Regions from separate parts of the Homo sapiens genome. Here region 2 is linked to region 1. The links are contacts of gene promoters, found by promoter capture Hi-C in human tissues and cell types (Jung and others, 2019). All regions are on one chromosome and are shown on one strand. The core of a region is centred on a gene start or on the middle of the fragment in contact, and the rest is flanking DNA. Distances in the headings are between cores, read along the strand shown. Region 1 holds the start of DNAJC27 (DnaJ heat shock protein family (Hsp40) member C27). Region 2 has its middle 23 kb from the start of NCOA1.

Region 1 (4,757 bases), core at 2,225-4,724:
TTGATAAATCACTGTTGCCATGTAGAAGAAAGTCCTTCTGAGGAAACACACATTATTTATGGATAAAGAAACAAGCTGGCTGGGCACATTGGCTCATGCCTATAATCTCAGCACTTTGGGAGGCTGAGGCAGGAGGACTGCTTGAGCCCAGGAGTTCAAAACCAGCCTGGGCAACACAGTGAGACTCCTTCTCTAAAAAAAAAGAAATACATATATAGGTAAGTATGACATATATTCATATATGTATATATACACACTATATATATATGTGTATATATTATATATGTCTTTATATATATTTTTGAGCAATTCTCCTGCCTCAGCCTCCCAAGTCACTGGGATTACAGGTGCCTGCCACCACATCTGGCTAATTTTTGTATTTTTAGTACAGATGGGGTTTCACCATGTTGGCAAGGCTGGTCTCGAACTCCTAACCTCAAGTGATCTACCCGTCTTGGCATCCCAAAGTGCTGGGATTATAGGTGTGAGCCACCCAGCTGGGCCTGTGTTTATATCTATCTATGTATATCTATCTATTAAAATGTCTGCAAATAAACCTCAAACTACTCAGAAACATTTGAGTATACATGTACATATAGATAGCACAAGTGATAGAAAAAATGGGACAAAATGTTAACAACTGATGAATTTGGATAAAGGGTAGACAAGATTTTTTGGTCTCATTCTTGAAATTTTCTGTGTAAAATTATTTCAAAACAGTTTTGAAAGATGAAATGCAATACTACATTTTAAGGTATATATTCATATATAGTAAAACAATTTTAAATGCCTGGAAATTAAAGCAGCATTCAGATTGTTGCAACTGTTTGTAGAGAGGGAAGAGGGATGTATTGGGAAAGGCTACGCACAGTATCAGTGATGTTTTCTTGTTTCATTTATTTATTTAGAGACAGGGTCCAACTTTGTTGCCCAGGCTGGAGTGCAGTGGCACGACCACAGCTCACTGTGGCCTCAACCTCCCAGGCTCAGGTGATTCTCCAACCTCAGCCTCCCGCGTGGCTGGGACTACAGGCTTGGGCTACCACAACGGCTTTTTTTTTCGTAGAGACAGGGTTCTGCCATGTTGCCCAGGCTGATCTCAAACTCCTGGGCTCAAATGATCCACTGGCCTTGGCCTCCCAAGGTGCTGGGATTATGGGGTGGGCTACCATGCCCAGTGGTGATATTTTATTTCTTAAATTGGGTGGGGGATACATGGCTATTCATTCCATTATACTTTATACCTTTAAGTATGTCCTAAATATTTCATAATTTACTTTCTAAAAATACACATTAAAAAGATGTAGGATTTTTCTTAACACATAAAAAAGTATGAGCAAATGAGAGCATGTGGCTGCTGTTTGCTGGGAGACTACTACGTACTTCCTGTGCATTATCTCCTACAATCCTTATCACCACCTCATGCCTACAACATATGCCAAGATTAAGTGTATCGGGCTGGCTCCAGAATCCATGCTCACACTATACCTCCCAGGTCCATACTATGGAAAAAGCAGCTAACTCGTGCTGATTTTTATTTTTTTATATTCAAAGAGTGGGGGAAAAAAAACAACTTTCTTGCTCTTTCGATTCCAAACTAATTTAATACACACAGTAGAAAATGTAGCTATATACAATAAAGTGTCAAAAGCATCAATATGGGCCGGACGCTGTGGCTCATGCCTGTAATCCCAACACTTTGGGAGGCAAAGGCAGGAGGGTCACCTGAGGTCAGGAGTTCGAGACCAGCCTGGCCAATATGGTGAAACCCCGTCTCTACTAAAAATACAAAAATTATCTGCGTATACCGGTGGGTGCCTGTAATCCCAGCTACTCGGGTGGCTGAGGCAGGTGAATTGCTTGAACCCGGGACACAGGGGTTGCAGTGAGCAGAGATTGTGCCACTGCACTCTAGCCTGGGCAACAAGAGGGAAACTCTGTCTCAAAAACAAAAACAAAAACAAAAAAAACCCCATCAATATGAAAAAAATAGTAATCAATTTAAATCTGTGGCATGTTTTACTGCTTAGTCTCAACAGCACCATACTTAATCAATCATAACAGCTGAAGATTTGACATTTTATAATTATTCTTCCACAATACCAGTTACCCTATTACAGGGCCAAAGGTGAACTGTCGAAGAAATTACATGTTTAGTAATTTGATTTATTAAATCATACTGAGAAGTTAGCATGTGGATTCTTTTAAGCTTTAAAACTATCCAAATTCTAACCAGGACTTATATTTCATATTTGTAAATAATTTTAGAAGCTTCAGTGAATTAAGTTATATTATTTGATTATCAAAACAATCCAGAATAAACTTGTCTTAAAAAAAACTTAATGTTTAAAAAACACATTTTAAAATTAAAATGTGGAAAATCTGACTTTACTGTGAAATGTTGAGCCTTTGCTCATTGCCTTCCTGTAATGCACTTCCCTTAAGATGTTTAAAGTTAGGTGAGAAAAGAAGCAATGCTACTTTTGTCTTTGTAATATACAGGGAAATTGGCAGCCATTTTTTTTCAGGGCACTATAAATAATCATTGTCAAGTTCTATTTATCTTCTGTAACTGAAGATATTCACTGAAAAAAAATTACCGTTCCTGTCAGACTGACTTTTATTCAAGCACTGTCACATTGTCAGCTAAAGGGAAGGGGAGAGCAGACGTCGAGGTCACGTTCGAAGCGAACAGCGGGGAGCTGAGGAAACTGACGTCCACAGCTCCAGCCTGGCTTAGCGTTAACACCTGCAGTAGACCAAGCCTTTCTCCCACAGAGGAGTCAACAAATCCATCAGAGATCTGTAATAGGAGGGCCAAGACTAAACACTCTTGCCTTGACTCCAAATAGACAACTCCATTTAAAATAAAAAACAATAGGAACCAGATTCAGAATCGCTTCACGCCTTGCCCAAGGCCCTCTTCCAGAACCAGGGTTCCGACCTCCCCACTTTCCTGGCTTTGGGGTCTGCCTCTCGGGGATCTCGAGCAAGGGGAACAAAATATTGGAGGGGGAAGAGGAGCAGCAGCCCGGCCCATGGAACCGAAAAAGAATCCAGAAAAAAAAAAAAACACTCCCAAACGGACGAGACACTACCAGACCCGCCCTGAAGAGCCAATACATTTCCACCACTCGGCTGCGAAAGCAACAAACGCCTCCCGTCCGGGCGTCCCTGAAAACAAGGACGCGCTCACCTCGAAGGGTAAACCCAGCCGCCCCCCAACGCCGCCTTCCCGTCAGGGGACGAGGCCTTAGAAACTCGGTAACTGCAGTCGCGTCTCCAGGGCCTGCAGATGACGTCAGCAGCCCCGCGCTAGCATCGCGAGACTCCCGTCTCCCTCCCCCGGCTCCCCACGCTCCCAACCGCCCGCGCCTGCTGCCAGGCAGCGGCGGGGATGGCGAGCAGCGGAGGCGAGGCGGTGACGAGAGCAGCGGCTCCGCCATTGGACGAGGAGGCCTGAGGGACGGGCCAGCGGTGCACAAGAAGAGACCGAGGCGGGTGGCCCCGAGAGAGCCAGGGCCATGGAGGCCAACATGCCGAAGCGGAAGGAGCCCGGCAGGTCTCTCCGCATCAAAGTCATCTCCATGGGCAACGCCGAAGTGGGGAAAGTGAGTACAGCGAGCCGGGAGGGGCGGGCCCCAGCGTGGCGGGGCGACGTGTCCATTGGCTGGAAGGGCGGCCACTCAACAGCCTGGGGCCCGGCCTCCTCTCCGCCCCCGAGCAGGCCCGGGTCTCAGCCGAGGGGTGCGGCTCCGCGAACGAAACTCCCCGACCTTTTTGACCTTTCCGTTGCCCCCTCGTCCTCCGACGTCACTCTTCCGGAGATGGTGTCTGGGGTGGCCTCTAAGCCTTGAATGTACCCCCAAAAGAGTAAGAAGGCCTGGGTCCCCATGAGGGGCCGTCGGCCTAGATACCTTGCCCGCGTTCTAGGGGGCCGTCCGGGACCGGGAGATGGAGGATGAAAGTTTAGTTCCCCCAGCCGGGCCTGGGAGCCGGCGGAACGTTATGGGGTGCGTGTGAGAATTTGGGGTTCGCGAAATGGTGCCCGGCAGCCCAGATTCTGCATTCCCGTCACGAGAGAGCGTAACTGACGTTGACGTGTTTCACAGGGGAGGTGCAAGGGATGGCCGGGGTCCGCGCTGTTTTGTTTTGCGTTGTGTTTTATTTTTGGTGGTGTCCCCATATCTGTTAGTTCCACCGCCCTTCTCTCTGCCCCATCTGTGGTTCATCAGCTATAAACTCTCCTTTAGTACGTGGGGAGGGAAGGCCAGAGGTAACCTGAGGCCTTTTCCCTTATGAATTCCAAGACGGCCTCCTCTTCACTCAAATTCTTTCCTTTTGGGCAAGTGGAATCTGTTGGTTAAGAACTTCCCAAGGTCATCAAATCAGTGACCGAGGAAAGATTAGAACCTAAGTCTTCACATTCCCACTGCGGTGCTCTTTCCGTCGTTGTATGCGTTCAAAATCAACTCCGAAAGAGCTGTTAAGGCAGTGCCTAGTCCAGTGCCTGGCACCCAGGAGATGCTCAGTAAATGTTTACTTAGTGTTTTTTATTTCTGTGTAGCATGATCCCGTACTACTTTTGTGTGTATGTGCTAGCATAGTATTCACTGAAAGTCAACATTTTTTTGAACGTCAGCTGTGTACGAGGTGTTTTTTTTTTTCTAGGGACTGGGCACGCTAGCTCAGGCCTGTAATACATCAGCACTTTGGGAGGACGAGGCGGGCGGATCACTTGAGGTCAGGAGTTCAAG
Region 2 (4,337 bases), core at 639-3,138, 500 kb after region 1:
CCCACCCCTGTGCTTTTCTGCTTTGCAGGGTTGATGTTGGCATTCAATTAGATAAAGTAGGTAAAATACCAGAGTTGTTGGTGGCATCAAAAAGGTACACAGTACATGTTGCTTCTTTTCATATTATTTGGGCTACTTCTGGCATCACCAAAATTTATAGCTATACATCACTTATTCCCCTGAAGGTAGTCCCCTGGCTACAAGCACCCTTGAATTTGAGACAGATGGCATAAATACTACATCACCTTGGTACTTAGGGCAGGGTCTGCAAATTCAGTTAATAGACAGTCTTGGATATAGGGCCTGCAGGGATTGCATTTTCCAGAACAGGAAATAGAAAACTGATATGGGCCACAAGGGAGTGATACCATGAGAGCAGCATCTTCACACATTATTTTTCCAATTATCCACAGATATTTGCTATTCAAGTGGGGCATGGGAATTACTAAGGTAATTACTAGCTGTCCCAACAACTGCTATGTGGACCCTTCATTCCAAAAAAAGGGAAGAAGATATGAAAGAGAGAAAATATGCAAAATAAACAATATTCTAACCAATGCCTTTTGGATGAATTAGAGCAGAAAAGAACAGAAATGTGGAAAACAGGAGATGCTTGCAGTGACTCACAAATGAGCAGATGAGGGCCTGAACCAAGAAGGCAGTTGTTTAACTGCTTTGATAATGGCAAGTATGAGACATTGTAGAAGAAAAAATTAGGATAAGTTTTTGATGAGTTAGACATGGGACGTGCAAGAGAAAAAGGAACAGAAAGAATGATGAGGTTATTAGCTTGAGAAGCAGGGTAGTGCCTCTGAGCTTAAGGCATAGGACCGAGAGTGAGAAGACCTGTCCCTACCACTTTGAACAAGTGACTTAACCCCTCTTAGCCCACTCTTCTCATTTGTAAAGTGTCTCTGCTCACCACATAGTGGTTTTGTAAGGCACAAATAAGATGATGTGCAGGAAAGCTGCAATGTGCTGGACAAGTGAAAGGCAGTAATGTTCATCATCATCATCATCAGTAAGGAAGCTGGAAAGGGAATATAATGTGACTAAGAGTATGAGAAATTCAATTTTAAATATGCTAAGATGTTGGCTTAACATCAAAGTGAAGATAACAGAAAACTAGCTAACGTGGGGAATGACTTAAGGAGTTAATGAGTCAGGGCCATTATATACAACAACAACAACAACAACAAAATATGTTTCCATAAGAGGCCAAGTCTAATCTGTCATTGATGGGCATTTAGGTTGATTCCATGTCTTTGCTATTGTGAATAGTGCTGTAATGAACATACACATGCATGTGTCTTTATGGTAGAATAATTTGTATTCCTTTGGGTATATACCCAGTAATGGGATTGCTGGGTTGAATGGTAGTTCTGCTTTTAGCTCTTTGAGGAATTGCCACACTGCTTTCCACAACAGTTGAGCTACACTCTCACTAACAGTGTATGAACGTCCCATGGAATACTATGCAGCCATAAAAAAGAACAAGATCATGTCCTTTGTGGGAACATGGATGGAGCTGGAAGCCATTGTCCTTAGCAAACTAATGCAGGAACAGGAAACCAAATAGCAGATGTTCTTACTCAGAAGTGGGAGCTAAATGATGAGAACACATGGACATAAAGAGGGAAACAACAGACACTTGTGCCTACTTGAGGGTGGAGGGTGGGAAGAGAGAGGATCAGAAAAAATAACTATTGTGTACTAGGCTTAGTACCTGGGTGACAAAATAATCTATTTAACAAACCCCCATAACACAAGTTTACCTATATAACAAACCTGCACATGTCCCCTGAACCTAAAATAAAAGTTAAAAAAAAGGGGCCAAGTATTCTAATTTATTGAGCTGATTTGGGATATAAGGTCAACTGTGGAACTGAGGCATATAATCACTTGCATAGTAGAATAAGCATACGCAGCACACCTGAGCAATAGCGTTACTGGTATTTCTGTGCTATGAGAGCCTGGATGTGGCTGCCTTAACACTACAGACCCTTGACTGGAGCTTCATTCATCAATGTCCTTGGATGTCCACCTATGAAGTGCACAAAAAGAGCAAAAGCAAATTTGACTAAAATGGGAAGGGGAAATGGTGTAGGAGTAAACAGTAAAAAGGAAAAGAAAGCCAAGATAAATGTAAGAAAGTAAAAGGAGATGTTGAGTAAAGGATATTTGTCCATGGGATGCAACTATAAATAAACCAGGGAGAAAAAAGATTTTTATGTACTTAAGAATGGAAATCAATGAACTGGACTGAGTATTGTATCAAAACTGTAAGGCATATGATTGTGATGGAAGACACCTCACTTCCTTTTCCTGAGAGAAAGCCACAGGTAATCACCCTTTGTAAAATAAATCATTTTGTATATATGAAAAGAGAATTTGCTGTTTGAAGGAATCCCATGATGGTTCCTCATATAAAGTAAGAGTTCACTTCATAAAGCAAACAATCACTCCCATTTGTGAAATGGATGAATTGGTTGATTGCACAATTTATCACTTGTGTATAGACCTGTATTGTCATCTACTAGGACTCTGTAGATCAAAATAAAGATGACGTTGAACCTGAAGTTCAGCTAGAGATAACCCATTTTCTACCTTCTCTCCCAACTACCTCTTCTTGAGTAAGTTCCCTGGAGATGCCACACCACATCTCCCTCCAAAAGTAACCAAAAAATGAATGACTGAAGAAAGAGGGGGCCCCCGGCCTGGGGCCATCTGGTGCGAAATGTGAGCTAAGCAAGTTGCTTTCCCTCTCTCAGGACTTAGGACTGAGGAAAAAACAAAGCAGTGGTGGCTGAAGTCAAAAGGATTGCAAGTTGCCAACCAAAGTTCAAGAGACAAGAAACAATGATAATGCAGACGAAGCTGCCAATAGACAGGAAATGGATCTGTAGGAAGAAGCAGAATATAGGAGCTGTGAGATCAGGATCTAGGAGAAAAGATTAGAAAGTCACTCTTAGAAAGGGCTTTACTTTAAAAGCAGTTTAAGTAGAAGGCCAGCAAGAGAAGCCAGTTGCAAGGTATGTTGATGCACGGGTGGGTGGAGGTGACGAGAGAATATCACTGCTTGGGATTTCAAGAGACTGAGTGGAATGTGACCGATCCTGTATGGGAGGATGAAGTCTCAAGTATGTAGGGAAAATAGGACTTTGCTTCCCTGTGAGCCAGGTGAGCTAAGAACTGGACCTGCATTTAGAATGGGGGGTAAAATTGACCTGATAGAACTAAAAACCACATGATAAACTATTTATTAAACAAGCTTTTAATAGGTTGTTAGATTAATTTAAGTTAAAACAATGGAACCATGTACCTGCGACTTACCAACTTCATGTAGTATATCATCTAAGATTTCCACATGCTGTAGTAACCTGGTTTTGCAATCTCACTCAATTGTCCATGTAAGCAGGAATAAAAGAAAGAAATATAGCAGAGGCCCTAAAGAAAATAAAAAGAAAAGTAAGTCTGCACTCTTAAGGACATGGTCAACTGTTTGAAAAATGCTTCTTTTTTGATAAACTTAAAAATCTTACCCTCTCCCAAGATTCTGACACTATCACCTATCACCTCAGGGCAATGTTTTTCAAACTGTAGGTCATGAAATCAATTTGGATGGTCATGACCAGCATTTTTTAAAAAGAATAGTATGTACTGTTATTTTAAAAAAGATGTTTTGGTTGTTTTAATTACACACACACACACACACACACACACACACACACACACAATGTGTACTGAGTGAAGATGTAAAATGTATTTCTTACTGTGGTTCACAACAAAAAAGTTAGAAAAACATTTCCCTCTCCCTGGCCTCTCTATTGAGATTATTTTATTTTCTGCATATGTCCAGTTTTACTTTTTTCTTTTTTGAGACAGAGTCTTGCTCTGTCACTCAGGCTGGAGTGCAGTGGCTTGCTCATAGTCATTGCAGCCTCGACCTCCCAGGCTCAGGTAATCCTCTCATCTCAGCCTCCCTAGTAGCTGAAATTGTAGGTACACAACAGCATACCCGACTAACTTTTTTTTTTTTTTGAGAGGGAGTCTCACTCTGTCATCCAGGCTGGAGTGCAGTGGCACAATCTCAGCTCACTGCAACCTTGGCTTCCTGGGTTCAAGCGATTCTTCTGCCTCAGCCTCCTGCGTAGGGGGGATTACAGGTGCATGCCACCGTGCCCAGCTAATTTTTGTATTTTTAGTAGAGATGGGGTTTCACCATGTTGGCCAGGCTGGTCTCGAACTCCTGACCTTAAGTGATCCACCTATCTTGGCCTCCCAAAGTGCTAGGATCACAGGCTTGAGCCACTGCACCCTGCCCTGACTAGTTTTTT

The links. The method cuts DNA at HindIII sites, captures the fragments that hold promoters and counts their contacts. A contact is called where the count stands out against the background at its distance.
Region 2: a fragment that was not itself captured here is called in contact with the fragment with the promoter of DNAJC27 in region 1 in 1 of the 25 tissues and cell types used here (mesenchymal stem cells).

The regions. Positions count from the first base shown.
Region 1 is chr2:24,970,672-24,975,428 of GRCh38, reverse strand. It overlaps DNAJC27 (DnaJ heat shock protein family (Hsp40) member C27), which reads left to right and starts at 3,474. Exons shown (of 7, transcript NM_016544.3): 1 at 3,474-3,611. The coding sequence starts at 3,525. It overlaps DNAJC27-AS1 (DNAJC27 antisense RNA 1), which reads right to left and starts at 3,317. Exons shown (of 3, transcript NR_034113.1): 1 at 3,197-3,317. RefSeq lists enhancers at 2,425-2,942, 3,154-3,233, 2,943-3,461, 3,444-3,553, 3,814-3,923 and 2 more and a silencer at 3,684-3,763. The HindIII fragment of the contact is 11,912 bases long and covers 333-4,757 here.
Region 2 is chr2:24,465,821-24,470,157 of GRCh38, reverse strand. No RefSeq gene overlaps it. Among named protein-coding and RNA genes, the nearest start is that of NCOA1, 23 kb to the left of the region's middle. The HindIII fragment of the contact is 6,412 bases long and covers 1-4,337 here.